2 separate regions of the Homo sapiens genome follow, and region 2 is linked to region 1. The links are contacts of gene promoters, found by promoter capture Hi-C in blood cells and fetal thymus (Javierre and others, 2016). All regions are on one chromosome and are shown on one strand. The core of a region is centred on a gene start or on the middle of the fragment in contact, and the rest is flanking DNA. Distances in the headings are between cores, read along the strand shown. Region 1 holds the start of CMC1 (C-X9-C motif containing 1). Region 2 has its middle 6.1 kb from the start of LINC02084.

Evidence for each region. Contacts are between HindIII fragments. The CHiCAGO score rates a contact against its expected background, and 5 or more counts as called.
Region 2: a contact is called between a fragment that was not itself captured here and the fragment with the promoter of CMC1 in region 1, in 15 of 17 cell types (activated CD4 T cells, naive CD8 T cells, total CD8 T cells and 12 more). The highest score is 17.0, in activated CD4 T cells.

What each region holds. Positions count from the first base shown.
Region 1 is chr3:28,238,145-28,246,071 of GRCh38, forward strand. It overlaps CMC1 (C-X9-C motif containing 1), which reads left to right and starts at 3,475. Exons shown (of 4, transcript NM_182523.2): 1 at 3,475-3,668. The coding sequence starts at 3,650. RefSeq lists a silencer at 3,688-3,767. The HindIII fragment of the contact is 9,835 bases long and covers 1-5,620 here.
Region 2 is chr3:27,702,850-27,710,776 of GRCh38, forward strand. It overlaps the pseudogene KIAA1143P2. Among named protein-coding and RNA genes, the nearest start is that of LINC02084, 6.1 kb to the right of the region's middle. The HindIII fragment of the contact is 249 bases long and covers 5,022-5,270 here.

The DNA of each region.
Region 1 (7,927 bases), core at 2,225-4,724:
TACCCAGACTGTGGCACTTCATTATGACCACCCTAGCAAATAATAGAAATGTCAACATGGACCTAAGTCCTTTTAAACCAGAGAAGGCACAAGCCATGCAAACTGGGTGCTAAATAATACAGCTCAGAAAGTAGGCAGGGCCACCAGGGACCCTTGATTAGTGATCTTCTGGCCGAGAACTACTTCTAAATCCTATCCTCTGGTAGAGATGAGGCGTCTAATATTCTTTCAAGTTTGATTCTTACTGACTCAAATTTGAAATCTCATTGATTTCAAGTTTTATTCTCATCTGTAGCAGAGCCAAGCTGCAGATGAAAAGTCTTTACTTCTGATGCTAAGAAGAGGCAGAAGCAAGGAGGGGCTGACTGATAATCTCAATTTCAAAAAACAACTAGCTGCATATCAACATATAGCATAAAGGAATGTTAGATCCAATTCAGAATTGACTCAAAAATAATCAAGATACTTGTTTCTACTTGCACATTCCTTTGCCTTCACATACAAAGAGAAATTCACTGTGGTTCAACTACTGTTATTACCCTGCATTACTGCAAATTTCTCTGAACTGATCTTTCTGTTTCATTATCGCCACTGTTAGCCCCCAATAATGAGGATCAAGGCAGATCATTTCAGGCATGAATAGGCACATTGCCATGATTTTCTCATTTGTCTGTATACATTTGCCAAAAAAAGGAATTATCCAGAAATCTTGACTCTTTGTCTTAGTCTTCTAAATCCAATTTCAAAGGATAGATTCTTCCTTTGCAATTACTCTCACATCCATCCTTTTATATATCCCAGTTGAGGCTCTTTTCATATCTTGCCCAAACCAGTACAATAGCCTCCTTACTTTTCTGCTTGCCTTTTAGCTCTTTCCTCGCTGCCTACATTCATCCTGCGCAAAACTTTTATAAAACACCTTTAGAAAATTTTGACCACAATGCTCTTTTCCTATATATTAACCTTCAACAGATTCTGGTTGCTTATAGTAACACATTCAAACACACCTCTGTCTAGTGTTTAAGGCTGTGGGAATCTGGACTTTTCTAGCCAATGCATAACTGCCCTAGCTTCCCAAATCCTAAAATGCATTGAAGTAGTTTCAAGCATTGCCCACCACATGCCTGCCACACAGCCCCGTGGTGCTTCCTGCCACACAGCTGGGTGCTTCCCACCCCTGTGCTTTTGTTCATGTGATTCCATTCCTTAGCCTGTACTCTGCCATGCTCCACCATGCTCTTTCAAGAACAGTTCAAATCCCAGATGCTTTTGCTCTCATTTTTCTCCCAGCATGAGATGCCCTTTTTTCTGTCTACTCATTGTACCCATCGTTCAAGGCCGAGCATAACTTCTAACTTATCTCTGAAGTCTTTCCTAACCATTGCGGCATTCAATCCTTTGAGAAAGGCTTTTGTGGGGTCACCAGTTACCAGACGTTGCCTGAGCTCTAGGGATCACAGCTGGGTAAGACACTGTTCCTAATTTCCAGGATGATGTCCTCTCCTCTTTCCTTGAGCTCCTTTTGCAGTTACTACCCAAAGAATTGCCTATTAATAATGCGATGCCTCAGGAAATTTCTTCTGTTTTTAATTGCCAATTACATTCGCTTAACTTAAAAAATGACTTATCTTCCCTAGGTATAGATTGTAAAGACTCAGTTTCCCCCCAAAGTATCTGGTTTAACATGGGAGTAGAGAGAGATATACTATTATGTATCAGGTATTGGGCTACCGTTTTTGCTAGTGCTTCTCCTGGTGTGATACGTCTAGCAGTTCATTCTATGGGGCACACAAAACCCATGATATTACAGATACTGTTGCTTAGGATAAGGCTAAAGTAAATAGTGCCTATTTAAGTGTTTTTAAAAATGTGTTGATTTAAAAACAAATGTTAAATAGTAATGTTTCAAGTAATAGCTATGGCAGAAATGGTAGAAGTGGTCCTTTAAAGTCTTTCAAATGCATTGTATGATATCACATTTATTCCTCAGAACAACCTTGTAAATTGGAAACCAAAGTCCAGAAAAATAATAGAACTTACTCAACTCACTAAGATAACAGATCAAACTTTCCTCCTTTACCATAATACCCTTTTGCATATAGAAAGATTTAGTTTAATTCTTGAATATGGGTGTCTGACCTGTGTTTTCATACTCCATCTCCTCAAAAAGATTGCTTTAGCTTTCTAAATCAAATCCTTCACCTTCAGAACAATAAAAGAGGCATACCAGAGTCATTTTGGTGTATTTCTAAGCATATTTACAAAATATACAAGGAAAAGGACCTGATTCCCTGGCTGGGTGAGTGAAACGTTAATTCTTCACCTTGGCACCTCAACCTACAGCTGTAATAAGGGCCGTTATGCCCAAATAGGCCCTTAAACGGAAGACCTGCTGAGCAGAGACCCACTTTCCCAGCCCTGCTCAACTGCCTCAGCTTTTCTGCCAACTGACCAGGCGGAAGCAGCAGCAGGGGAGGAGGGACTGCAGGTAGGTGGGGAGGGGATCATTTTGAAAGCCCTGAATCCCTTGCAGGGAAGAAGCAGCTGCTCCTTGTTTTTCTAAACATCTGTCCCATCTGTCCCAGGCCTCAGCTCACCCTTTCGTGGCTCGAGCCAGTTAAACGTGAATTTGACAAGGAAGCACTTCTGAAGGCTGGTTTGTGAGTGGAAATGAACCTAAGTGCCACCTAGAAAGTTTCTTCTATTGAGAAGAGGTGAGTAGTGGGTCTTCAGCGGGACGGCTATTACCTTCCTTCATTTTACTCTCACAAAACATACAGCTTTTACTGATAGAGGCAGGATTTGTAACATCACCCAAATCATACTGTACGTCCTGAGGATATTATTTCACAACATAGAGGTACTTCTAGAGCCCATATTTTAACGTCTAGGAGAGCCACAGTCTTTGATTTGAAGGAGAAATAACGATATTGCACACACCATATCACCTTTATGGTAGAACAAGCTGTGAACAACTAGTGCGTGTGGCGTTTATCACATTTAACAGCGTGTTGCTTTTATTTGTCTCCTCTGCCACACTGCTCCTTGAGAACAGGGACGTTATTTTTATTGTTATTTTCCCCTCGTATTCAGAACCGTGGCTGGAACTTGGCAGGCATGAAATAGACATTTATGAATGAATGAACGTTAACGAAGAAAAAAAAAGGAACTGGATGATTCATTTGGTTCTCCGAAGGCGGGTATGGGGGACGGGGCTCGGACTTTGGCCCAGTCACCGAGTGAGGCACAGTCCCAAAGTCCTGCAGGTCCGCCTCCAGTCACGGCCGACCCGGGTCTGCAACTGGTGCACAAGCCTCCTGAAGCGAGGCTGCGCGCGTCCTGCACGGTCCCGCCCCAAAGGCACGCAGACACGCCCCCTTTCCTGGTCATTCCCCCTGCGAAGTCAGTTCCACTCTAGTTACAGGATTGGGGCGGGGCCAGAAAGGCGCAGGCGCAACGGGCGGCGGAAGTAGGAGCCTGGGAAGGAAGAGGGAACGGGTCCTGGCGGTGCTTTGCAAAGGGCCCGTGTTTCTGTTGCGGGAAGCTCCCGGGGGTCGCACGTGCGTCCGAGCCCAAGCCCCTCCCCTCCACTCCCCTTCCTGCGTGCCCCGGAGCCGCCAAGCGGCTACGTTCTTCTCGGCCCGCCGAGATGGCGCTCGACCCCGCAGGTACCGGGGCGGGAAGCGGGGTTTGCCGAGGGGCCTCGCCCCGGGTCTCACGCCGCGGGCCATGCGGGCTGGATGCCGACCTGGGAAAGGTGCAGAGCTCTGGGTAGCATTGCTTCCACCAGCGTCTCCTCATACCCGGCGGCTGCTTCGCCCGGTCTGAGGTCATCTTCTCACTTGTTGGGGATTATGGTTATCTGAGGTTGCGTTTGTTGTCTAAAGTATCATCCATTGTGGTTTCCAACTTAACGCGACTAGTCTCTTCATTGTCACCCTCTTTTCGCCCCTTAAGGTCACAGATGCATTTAATGTATGCTGCAGACACTCTGGCCCCAGAAAAATTTGTATATTTGTTCTGGCGCACAGTTTTACATTTCTGTTTGGGAGTTCATGGACCCCGAGTTCATCCTTGTAACCCAACTTAAAAACATATTTCAAAGGATCCATCACTATGGCAGGAGTCAGTTTCTTTGGAAAGGATCTTCAAAATCTTGAATGTTGTTTTAATCTCTTTGCTTCCAGCCACTTCCGTTTGCAGCAATAGTTAACTTACCCTCGAATTCCCGTCCTTGTGGAAGGTCACCTGCAGTATCTTTGCGTTAGGCTATTTTTGCAAGGGAATAGATAACATTTTTGGAGGGAATGGTAGTTGGTCTAGTCCATTTCTTTCATTTTATGGATACAAAAAGTCAAAACATTGAGAGGTAAATGGCGTCAAACTTGGGAGATTCAGAAATGGAAAATGCTCTTTCGGAGCCTTCAAGGAGCATGGAAAATATATGTAGCACAGAAATAATGTTTTAATTGAACATGTTATTACCATGCTAAGTGTTCTCTATTATCCAACAATAATATGTGGTATGGTAGGTCCTTTTAGCTCCATTTTACAGATTAGGAAACTGAGGCGAAGAGAAGTTAAGTGACTAGTCCAGCAGGTAGTGGTAGATCAGGGAGTACTCTAATTTGAAGCATAGAGGAGTTCTGGAACATAATGATCATATTCATTTTGGACTAGGTGGTTATGAAGCAGTTAGCAGTTGATCTGGGCTTTGAGGGATGGAATTTCCAGTGGTTGGAGCTGGAGAAGAGGCAGCCCTATGAGCAAAGGTTTAGATAGTAAGGTGCACTGTGCGATGCTTGGTTTCAGGATGACTACCATGATTTGGTTCTTGAGGGTAGAAGGGGTAGAGTATAAGTGAGGGGTGAGTAAGGAAGGTTCAAGTTTAGGCCCATATAATTTATGGTATCTTTTTTTTTTATTTTACTGAAACGGAGTCTCACTGTCGCCCAGGCTGGAGTGCAGTGGCGCTATCTCGGCTCACTGTAGCCTCCGCCTACTGGGTTCAAGCAATTCTCCCACCGCAGCCTCCTGAGTAGCTGGGATTACGGGCGCCCGCCACCACGGCCGGCTAATTTTTGTATTTTTAGTAGAGATGAGGTTTCGCCGTGTTCGCCATGCTGGTCTGGAACTCCTGACCTCAAGTGATCTGCCTGACTTGGCCTCCCAAAGTGCTGGGATTACAGGTGTGAGCCACCGCACCCAGCCTAATTATGGTACTTCTGAACTTGAAGTGACCTTTAAAGTAATCTCATACGGATGAGGAGACTGAGAATGAGAGAGGTTAAAGATTTCCATATATCTACACTTTTTGAATTTAGACAAGGAAATTTGGGAAAAAAGTCTTCATACTTGCTCTCTTCACTTGCTTACCTTCCAGTTACTCATAAGCCACTCCAATCTTGTGTTGTACCCAAGGCCACACAGCTAGTTGCTGGTAGAGTCAAGTCTGGTTAGAACCTAGGTAATTTCATTTCCAGTCCAGTGCTGTAGACCATGCCACCTTTTGAGTATTGATTAAACAAAGACTTGTTGAGTGTCTGGTATATGTCCCATATTGTTCTGGACCCTAGGGAACAGTAGTACATAGGACAAACAAAATTCCTGCTCCCAATAAAGCTTATCTAGTGGTAGAAAAAACAATTAACACCCCCTTTTCCCCCTACACAGACACGTGCGTGGGCACACACACATACACACACACATTTTTACAGATTGTGATAAACATGAAGAAAATAATGTCATGTGGTAGATGGTGAAGAGATTAGTCAGTGAAGAGCTTTATGAGGAAGTGTCATTTGAATTGGAATCTGAGGGATGAGAGGAAGCTAGGCAGAGTGTGCTTGGCCATCAGGTAGCAAATACTTAAAATATTTAACTTGAACGTGGGTCAGAGTGTGGAGGGGATCCATAAGGAAAGATATTGGGAAAGTAGGTAGTCACTAAATGCCTAGATATTGCAGAGGCTGCAAGTCCTCAAAGGCTGGCTGTGATAATAAAGCATTTGGATTTTTTCTAATGGCATCAAATGCCTTTAGAATCTTTTAAAGAGGGCAGTAACATAATTTATGTGTTTATTATCCTCGCTACAGTGGTAGCATGCATTGTAGAGGGGTCAGGTCATAAGTGGAAGAAGGGAGACAGGTTAAGGGATAGGAGCAGTAGTCCAGGCCAAATATGTTTGTATCTTAGCCCAAGATGGTAATAGACAGATGGAAAGAAATATACAGCGTCATGAGGAGAAATTGACAGGACCTGTGGTTGCATTGAATAAGGATGGTGAGAGAAAGGGAGGAAACAGTGGGCACCGTGGCTCATGCCCTTAATCCCAGTGCTTTGGGAGGCCGAGGCAGGCAGATCGCATGAGCTCAGGAGTTTGAGACCACCCTGGGCAACATGGTGAAAATCCATCTCTACTAAAATACAAAAAATTTAGCCAGGCATGGTGGCACACGCCTGTAGTCCCAGCTACTCAGGAGGCTGAGGAATGAGAATTTGAGCCTGGAAGGCAGCGGTTGCAGTGAGCCGAGGTTGCGCCACTGCACTCCAGCTTGGGCCACAGAGTGAGACTTCGTCTCAAAAAAAAAAAAAAGAGGAAATAGGGATAATTCCAGTTTTTGTACGTCAGCAGCTGGGTGGAAGGTCATGGTCAAATCTAACAATGTGATTATTGGAAACTTCATCAAAGGAAGGAATGGAAGCAATGGAGAGTAAAAAAGTGGAGTCAGCAAGTAGGAAGGTTTTTTTTTTTTTCCCTAAATTGTTTTGTCTGTTTAAATTCCAGAATAAAATGTATGGAAGCCAGTTTTTTTTTTTTTTTAATTTCGTGTTTATTTGGTTCATACGTTGAAGCTTAGTTTCACATTTTGATGTTTTACTGCTTTGTACAGCCCACGATGGTATTTGCCCATATTGAGTAAGTGAATAATAGATACACCAATTGAGGTTCATTTAGCAAAATCTGTTTTCCTATTGGTTTATTTTGTATTTTCTGTGATCTTTATAGAAGCTTGATTTTCATTTGGCAGCAACTTTTAATTAACTTTGTAGGGTCTCTGTTTTCCTCAAGAAACTGTGAACCCAGCGAAAAAATGCAGGTTACATGCTTATACATAGTTTTATTTACATTATTTTCCTTTTTTTTGTTAATGTAGCAGTAATAACAGCAATCTTTGCTTATTGCCATGTTCCGGACAAATTTTCAGACATGATTATATTCTCAGATGATGGCCCATAGGAACCTGCACCTGATAAATTTGATTTTTCACTTTCTCTATCAACTAAAGTAATTCCTTTCTCCCTTCTTTGACCTTTCCCCTTTTTAGTTAGGTTCTCTTCCCTCTGTCAACATAGATTCATTCTCTACTTATGCAGAATGGGGCATGGCAGCCTAAGGGAAGTTTCCTTAATCAGGTGTGTGTGTGTCCCTGTGTCCTTCTATTGCTGTTTTTTTCCGGGAACTTAATAAAAGGAGGAAGATGGGACAGAGATAGGGCTTAGGGGGTGGAAAGTGGGTTCAAGAATTTCATGACATTCCATGAGAAGGTGTTTAAGGTATATGTGTCTTGGGAAGATTTAATTATGGATGTTCTTGGAACATTTGGGTTGCAGTACTCCAAGTTGGGGTTCTTTCAGTGGTTCCTGTGGGAATGTAGGTAAATTACCTTTAGGGGTACAGGAACAGTACTAGCCCTTACATTTACTAGAAAATTTTAAGTTAGACATGTAAACAAACTTGAAGAATCTTTTTTGAGCATTGTATGTTTAATATGTAAAAGGTTGTGGAGTTGATTAGAAAAATTTTTTATTTTTTTTAGTGATGGGGTTTCACCATGTCGCTTAGGCTGCACTTGAACTCCTTGCTCAGGAGCACTTGAACTCCTGGGCTCAAGTAATCTGCCCACCTCGGCCTCCCAAAGTGCTG
Region 2 (7,927 bases), core at 3,896-6,395, 530 kb before region 1:
GCCTCAGCTTCCTGAGTAGCTGGGATTACAGGTGACTGCCACCATGCCCGGCTAATTTTTGTATTATTAGTAGAGATGGCGTTTCACCATGTTGGCCAGGCTGGTCTCGAACTCCTGACCTCAAGTGATGTGCCCTCCTTGGCCTTCCAAAGTGCTGGGATTACCGGCGTGAACCGCCGTGCCTGGCCTGTAGTATCTTTATAATAGGAAAAAAATGTTACTTTAAAAAACATCGCATGTACTTTCAACGTAGACTAAATTCAAAATATTTACACTTACTTATTGTCATCTTCACTGTCAAAAGAAAGGAGGCTACTGTTTTTTATTTGTTTTTGTGAGTTCTTTTTGACTGAGTCCTGATTTATTGCATCTTAATTTGTCTTCTTTTTGGGCTTGCTTTTAAACCTGAATATTTTTCATCTGAGGGGCACTTGACTGGTGCTTTACTGGTTTTTGATACATGATTCTTCCCTCAGCTGGAGCTGGTTCTTTATCTGCTTTGGCAGCCTTTACTTCTGCTTTAATTTTCATGACTTCTTCAACTGACAGGTCTCCCTTTTTAAAAAACATCACTTGAGGCTCTTCATCTTTGTCACTGTGATCCCCATTTTCGTCTGGGAGATGAGGCTGGATTCTCTTGGTCTCTACGGTGGGCTCCTCCCTATAGCCAACCCACTCCTTGAAGCGAGCCAGGAATGCTGGCTCGGCTGGCCGCACGTCTTGTCCAATACTTTTTCTGCGTCTATGTAGACAATAATAGTTATTCACTTTTAGTCTATTAACATGGTGAATTACAATGATTAATTTTTGAATGTTACATCAAATAATTATCTCTATTGTTTGTTGCTGGTAACTTAAGATTATTATGACCTTTTGATAAATTTATCCCATTATCATTATTAAATGACCAGTTTTATTTTTTAAAATCTACTTTGATAGTAACATAGCCACTCTAGCTTTCTTTTAGTTAGTGTTAGCATGTTATATCTTTTTTGCCTTTTAAATTTTAAACCGTGTGTGTCCGTTTATTTATTTATTTTGAGACAGAGTCTCATTTTGTCTCCCAGGCTGAAGTGCAGCGGTGCGATCTCGGCTCACTGCAACCTCCGCCTTTCAGGTTCAAGGGATTCTTGTGTCTCAGCCTTCTGAGTAGCTGGGACTATAGGTGTGTGCCACCACACCTGGCTAATTTCTGTGTTTTTTTAGTAGAGACGGGGTTTCATCATCTTGGCCAGGCTAGTGTTGAACTCCTGGCCTCAAGAGATCTGCCTGCCTTGGCCCCCCAGAGTGCTGGAATTATAGGCGTGAGCCACTATGCCAGGTCTATGTCTTTATTTTTAAAGTGGATTTCTCAGGTGGGAGGATTGCTTGAGGTCAGGATTTCAAGACCAGCCTGGGCAACATAGTGAGACCCTGTCTCTACAAAAAAATAAAAAAAATTGTCTGGGCGCAGTGGCTCCTGCCCGTAATCCCAGCACTTTGGGAGGCTGAGGCAGGTGGATCACCTGAGGTCAAGAGTTCGAACCAGCCTGGCCAACATGGTGAAACCCCATCTCTACTAAAAATACAAAAATTAGCCGGGTGTAGTGGCAGGTGCCTGTAATTCCAGCTACTCGAGAGGTTGAGACAGGAGAATTGCTTGAACCTGGGAGAAGGAGGTTGCAGTGAGCCGAGGTCACGCCATTGCACTTCAGCCTAGGCGACAAGAGCAAAACTCTGTCTCAAAAAAAAAAAAAAGTAGCTGGGCAGGTGATACTTTGTTGGTTTATTAGCTATAATTCTTTGTTGTGTTATTTTAGTGGTTGCTTTAGGGTTTGTAGTAAACATCTTTCTCCCATGCTGGATGCTTCCTGACCTCGAACATCTGACTCCAAGTTCTTCAGCTTTTGGACTCCTGGACTTACACCAGTAGTTTGCCAGCGGCTCTCGGGCCTTCGGCCACAGACTGAAGGCTGCACTGTTGGCTTCTCTGCTTTTGAGGTTTTGGGACTCGGACTGGCTTCATTGCTCCTCAGCTTGCAGATGGCCTATTGTGGGACTTCACCTTGTGATCATGTGAGTCAATACTCCTTAATAAACTCCCTTTCATACACACATCTCTCCTATTAGTTCTGTTTCTAGAGAACCCTGACTAGTACAGTTGGGTTTAAATCTACCACAGTATTATTTGTTTTCTGTTTCTTATTCATTTCCTTTTCCTTCTTTTTGTGCCTACTTTAGATTAATTGAATATGTTTTATGATTCTTTAACTTATCACAGTTTGCCTTCAAGTGATATTATATTATACCACTTGATGCATAGGGTAATAACTCAGTTAATATGCTTCTGTTTCTCCCCTCCCAGCATTTGTGCTATAGTTATCACATATTTTACTTCCATGTATGTTATAAACACCACACAATTGGATGAGGGCCGCTAGAAAAAAACAAACAAACAAAAAGTAACAAAATCTTTTTTAAAAGAAAAAAACCTAGAATATCTTATTATTTTTGCTTTAAACAGTCCATTTTCTTTTAAAGAGATTTTAAAAATAAGAAAACAAGTATTTTATATTTATATTTTATATTTACCCACGTAGCTAACATTTGTAGTGCCCTACATTTTTTTAAGTAGATTCAAATTTCCATCTGGTATCATTTTCCTTCTGCCTGAAGCATTTCTCTTACCTTTTTTTTTTTTTTTTTTTTTTTTTGTAGCTTAGGTCTCCTGATGATGAATTCTTTTAGCTTTTGTATGTCTGAGAAAGTAATTTTACCTTTGTTTTTAAAATATGCTTTCCTTAGGTATAAAAATCTAGGTTGATGGTTTTACTTATTCTTTCAGTACTTCAAAGATGTTCTAATGTTATCCAGCTTACTTATTTTTTGTTATCATTTTTATTAGGTTGGTGCAAACACAATTTAGGTTTTTTCATTAAAGGTAATTGCAAAAACCGAAATTACGTTTGCACTAACCTAACCTAATATGTTTGTTCCTTTGCCCAGAATGTGTCCTTGTCCCCCTGACTGTTTTGATGTCTTCTTCTCTATCACTGGTTTTAAATAATTTGATTAAGATAAGCCTTGGTGTAGTTTTCTTTGCATTTTTTTGTGATTGGTTTAATTGAACTCTTTAGATTGGTGGATTATAATTTTTACCACATTTGAAATATTTTGACCTTTATTTTTTCAAATATCTTGTCTGTACCCTTCTCTCTTTCCTCTCTTTGATGCACTCCAATTACAGGCATGTTAGGCTGCTTGAAATTATCCCACAGCTCACTAAAGCTCTGTTTATTTTTCTCCAGCTTTTTATTTTTGTGTGTTTTATTTTATATCCTTTCAATCTCTATACCTCCAGGTTCACTAATCTTTTCTTCTGCAATGTATAATATGCCACTGATCTCACCAAGTGTTTTTCAATTTCAGACATTTGTAGTTTTTATCTCTAGAAGTTCAATTTGGTTCTTTTAAAAATATCATCCATGTCTCTACTTACCATTCTCAACCTTTTTTCTAGCTTTTTGAGCATATGAAATACAGTTATAGTAACTATTTAATATCCTTGTCTACTAATTTTATCATCTGTCACTTTGAGTTGGTTTTGATTGATTTTTTTAATCTTATTGTGGGTCATATTTTCCTGCTTTTTTGAATGTCTGGCCATTTTTGATTGGGTCCTGTGCATTTAAAATATTTTTTGTTCTGTGCTGGTTGTTAGTTTTATTACTATACATATAACTTGAGCTTTCTTCATGGATATAGTTAAGTTTCACTTCTTGTTTATAAGCCTACTTAGATTAAACCAGAGCAGCATTTAGTCCAGTACTACTTTAGCTCACTACTGAAGCAAGACCCTTCTGAGTTCTTTTCCTGATACCTCATGAATTATGAAGTTTTCCACTTTCGTGAGTGGGAAAGGGGACAATCCTCAGTCAGGGTAAATACTGGGTATTAATACCTCTCATCCAGTAGTTCTCAGCTGGGATAATTTTGCCCCATAGAGGTCATTTGACAATGTGTAGAGACACTTTTTGTTGTTACAACTGGTGGGGTAGTGCTACTGGCATCTAGTTGGTAGAAGTCAGGATATTGCTAAATATCCTATAATGCAGCTCCCACAATATAGAATTTTTTGCCTCCAAATGTCAATAGAGCTGAGGTTGAGAAATCCTGCCTAATCCTGTGGGCTTGGGGTATTTTCTTCACATGCGTGTGCTGATCAACACTCAGGTGGAGTTGAGGAAGACCCTATTCACTTCTCTAGATTTTTCTTTCTGGGCAGGTCTCTCCTCTCTGGAACTCTGCTCCAAAAACTCTAGCCATCTTGGCCTCCTCATCCTTACAGTTTTGTCTCCTCAAATCAAGAAGACTGCTGGGCTTTGTCTGGGTCCCTATCCCCATGCTAAACTGAGGCCTGGAAACTCTCCAGGCAGTAAGTTGGAGAAATATTAGGGTTTTCCTCATTCATTTCTCTTCTTTAATAGATTACTATTTTACATTGCCTAATGGAAGCCATATATATATATATATATATATATATATATATATATATCTGGTTATATATATCAGATATATATATATCTGATTTTTAGTTTAGTTTTTTTTTCAAGCAGAAAGTTAATTCATATCCCTGTTACTCCATCTTGTATTAGAGCAGAAATCTGCTTTTGACATTTTTTTCTTTTTTTTGAGACAGAGGAGTCTTGCTCTGTTGTCCAGGTTGGAGTACAGTGGCACGATTTCGGCTCACTGCAACCTCCATCTCCCAGGTTCAAACGATTTTCCTGCCTCAGCCTCCCAAGTAGCTGGGATTACAGGTGCCTGCCACTGTGCCTGGGTAATTTTTGTATTTTTAGTAGAGACGGGATTTCACCATATAGCCCAGGCTGGTCTCAAACTCCCAACTTCAGGCTATCTGCCTGCCTTGGCCTCCCAAAGTGCTGGGATGATTACAGGTGTGAACCACCGCGCCCGGCCATGCTTTTGACATTTTTGAAATTCAATTAAAATCATAGCATTGCTCTAGATCAGTGGTCAAAAGCTTTCCGTAGTGAAATCTTCCTCACAGGAGTATTTTGGTTATTTAATTTTTTCAAGTAGGGTGCCAAAACTGAAAAGTAGGGGGATTTTCACATAAAAACCCAAATTTTTCAGCTATTCTTGAAACATCCTCTTTGGGGAATCTCAAAACAACTCGAGAGTACTTAAGAGTACTCTCAAGAGTATCCTTTAGCAGTCAAGACATTGGAGGGTGATAGGTGGGCTGGATTTCTTCTTCATTGCCCCCAAGCTTCACCCTTCATTCTTTTCTGTCCTGCCTTGTGCCATCCTGCCTCCTCTATAGAGGAGGCTGACCTCTATGACTGCATCAAGAGATTGTTTAGCCCTTTGGATTCTCACTGGGTTCAGCCAAACAGGGGCACTGAGGGGATTTGAGGGTGGAAGGAGAGAGTCTGGCCTCCTTCTTGCTGGTTTACTAAAGGTTGGTCAAGTTCTTCCTAAAGCTGCAGCCTTTGTCAAATGGTCTTATCCACACTACTCTCTCTTTGGATCTGGCAACCTCGCCTATGTACAAGAAAGCTGGCAAACACAGAGAAACCAAATACCTCGTGGACCTTATTGCCAGGTTAAGAATGTGACTCATACATTTTTTTTTCCCGAAACTCCGATGGGAAATAGGGCATTGCAAGGCTTGGAAATGTTTGATTGTCCTTTTCCAGTGAGTTTGTTTTTGTTGAGAGGGAAAAAGGAATGGGAGAGAGTTATTTTGAGGCATGTATCTCCAGATTAAGATTTAGTTGTATTTCTAGAGACTCTCTTCTATTTAAATTCTGTTTTTCAGTTATGTGTTTCATCAATATCATTATGATCACCTTCCATAGTCTAGTCAATTCACAGAATCTGTTTTGACAGCTCTGAACAGAAAAGTCCCTAATGGAAATATTAGATACCATCTTAACCATTTTCTCCAAGTTGTATTCTACACTCTGTAATCTCAGCTTAATGTTATTAGCTCTGGGGCACAAATACACACTCCTACATACAAGCATGTATACACATTTTTGCACACTAACTTAACTCATGCTTCTCTGTGCTCTTCTATAACAGCTATGTAGTCTGTGTCTGTGGTCTTCTAAATATTTAGTGATGAGCACAGACTATTGGTTAATTATATCAACAACAAGCCTTTTTACCAGAGGAACTTGAATCCTGAAAGAAGTAAAATACCAAAGATCATTCTTGGGTTTTAGATCTGTAAGATAAAGACAAAATTTGCCTGCCAAGATTAAGAAAACCAGCAAATATGTAGGGTGAAGAACATATATTCTGTGGATTCACTACCCCAAAGCTATATAGGCCAAAGTGTGCAATGAAGAAGGCACCACTCCATGATAGGCTTAAAAAAAGGCTGAGTGTGGTGGCTCATGCCTATAATCTCAGTGCTTTGGGAGGCTGAAGTGGGAGGATTTTGAGCCCTGAATTGCAAGATCAGCCTGGACAACATAGTGAGAATCCATCTCTACAAAAAAACTTTTTTTAATTAGCCAGGCATAGTGGTGTGCACCTGTAGTTCTAGCTACTCAAGAGGCTGTGGTAGAAGGATTGTTTGAACCTAGGATTTTGAGGCTGCAGTGAGCTATGATTGTGCCTGGGTGATAAAGTGAAACCCTGTCTCAAAAAAAAAAAAAAAAAAAAAAAAAAAGAAGAAGAAAAGAAGAGGAAGAAGAAAAAGAAGAAAAATTAATCATGGATACATTTGGATTTCAAATATTGTTCATCCTCTGAAAAACATAAACAATAATAAAAACTATGCTTTTGAATTTAACGTTTTCATGACTAAACATATTTCCCAAGCCTCTGAAATATTGTATGTCCAAAGTATAGGGTCTAACCCATGATACACTGCCAAACCAATGAGTTCCTCAAGGGGCTTGGCAAACCACAAAACCATAGTGATACTTGGTTCTTGCCTCTGTATAGTGGGGTTTATAGAACTAGAGCAGTCTCTAAGGTGCCTCCCAGCTCTCCAATTCGGTGACTCAAGGAATGATGACTGATTTAGGGATTTAGGAAGAAGTGCTAGTTAACAGAAGGCTATATACTTATGGCATTAATATTGAGTCATTTCAAGAAGAAATGGTGGCAATCTAAGACCTTTGCAGGAAACATTCTGATTGCCTGAAGTTTTGCGGAATAGTCTACAATTTGGTGTCTGGGACGAGGAAGGGAACAAGATGGTGGCAATGGTATCTACATGTTCAAATCTACCCTTGTTATTCTTTGAATTTCCATGATGGTCTCTCTCAGTAACCAACTCCATTCCAGTTCTAGAAGTTCTAGGCTGTGAATTGTGGATAGTAACTTGGACTTTCCCCCGACCTTTCTCTCCCTCAGATTCCTCCCTCAATCATTTCCAAATAAAGTGGTAAAAAACCACTTCTCTTGTGGTAGATGAAATCACTCCCCTCCCTGCTTAACAACCAAATTATTTAATAGTCCTTTTTTTAGCACTTATGATTTCCATATGATGCTCCTCCTTATGAGTTATTGAAATATATTTTTAAAGGCATCAGGAAATTGACAATTTGCCCTGAGAGTAGAAAAACAGATGGAAACCTACTTTATCACTTTGATATGCACTGGTTTAATGTGATTTCTTAGCAATTTGGGGCATATTAGACTGTCTTAATAAATATGTTTCATCCACTAAGTCTTACCAATTTATGCATTTTGTCCATTTTACACCTAGGTTTCTGTGTCTCATGTTCCCCAGAAGGCCTCTCTGTTTTCCTGTGATGATATATAAAGAGCAGAGATCTTGGCTTTTTGGCTTACTCTGTTTAATGTCACATTCAAAGTGTCATTGAGTAAAATTTTCTCATGTATATGTAATTGATAATAATAGCTGTACTGGAATTTACCTCCTTTGCCAACCCCTTAATGA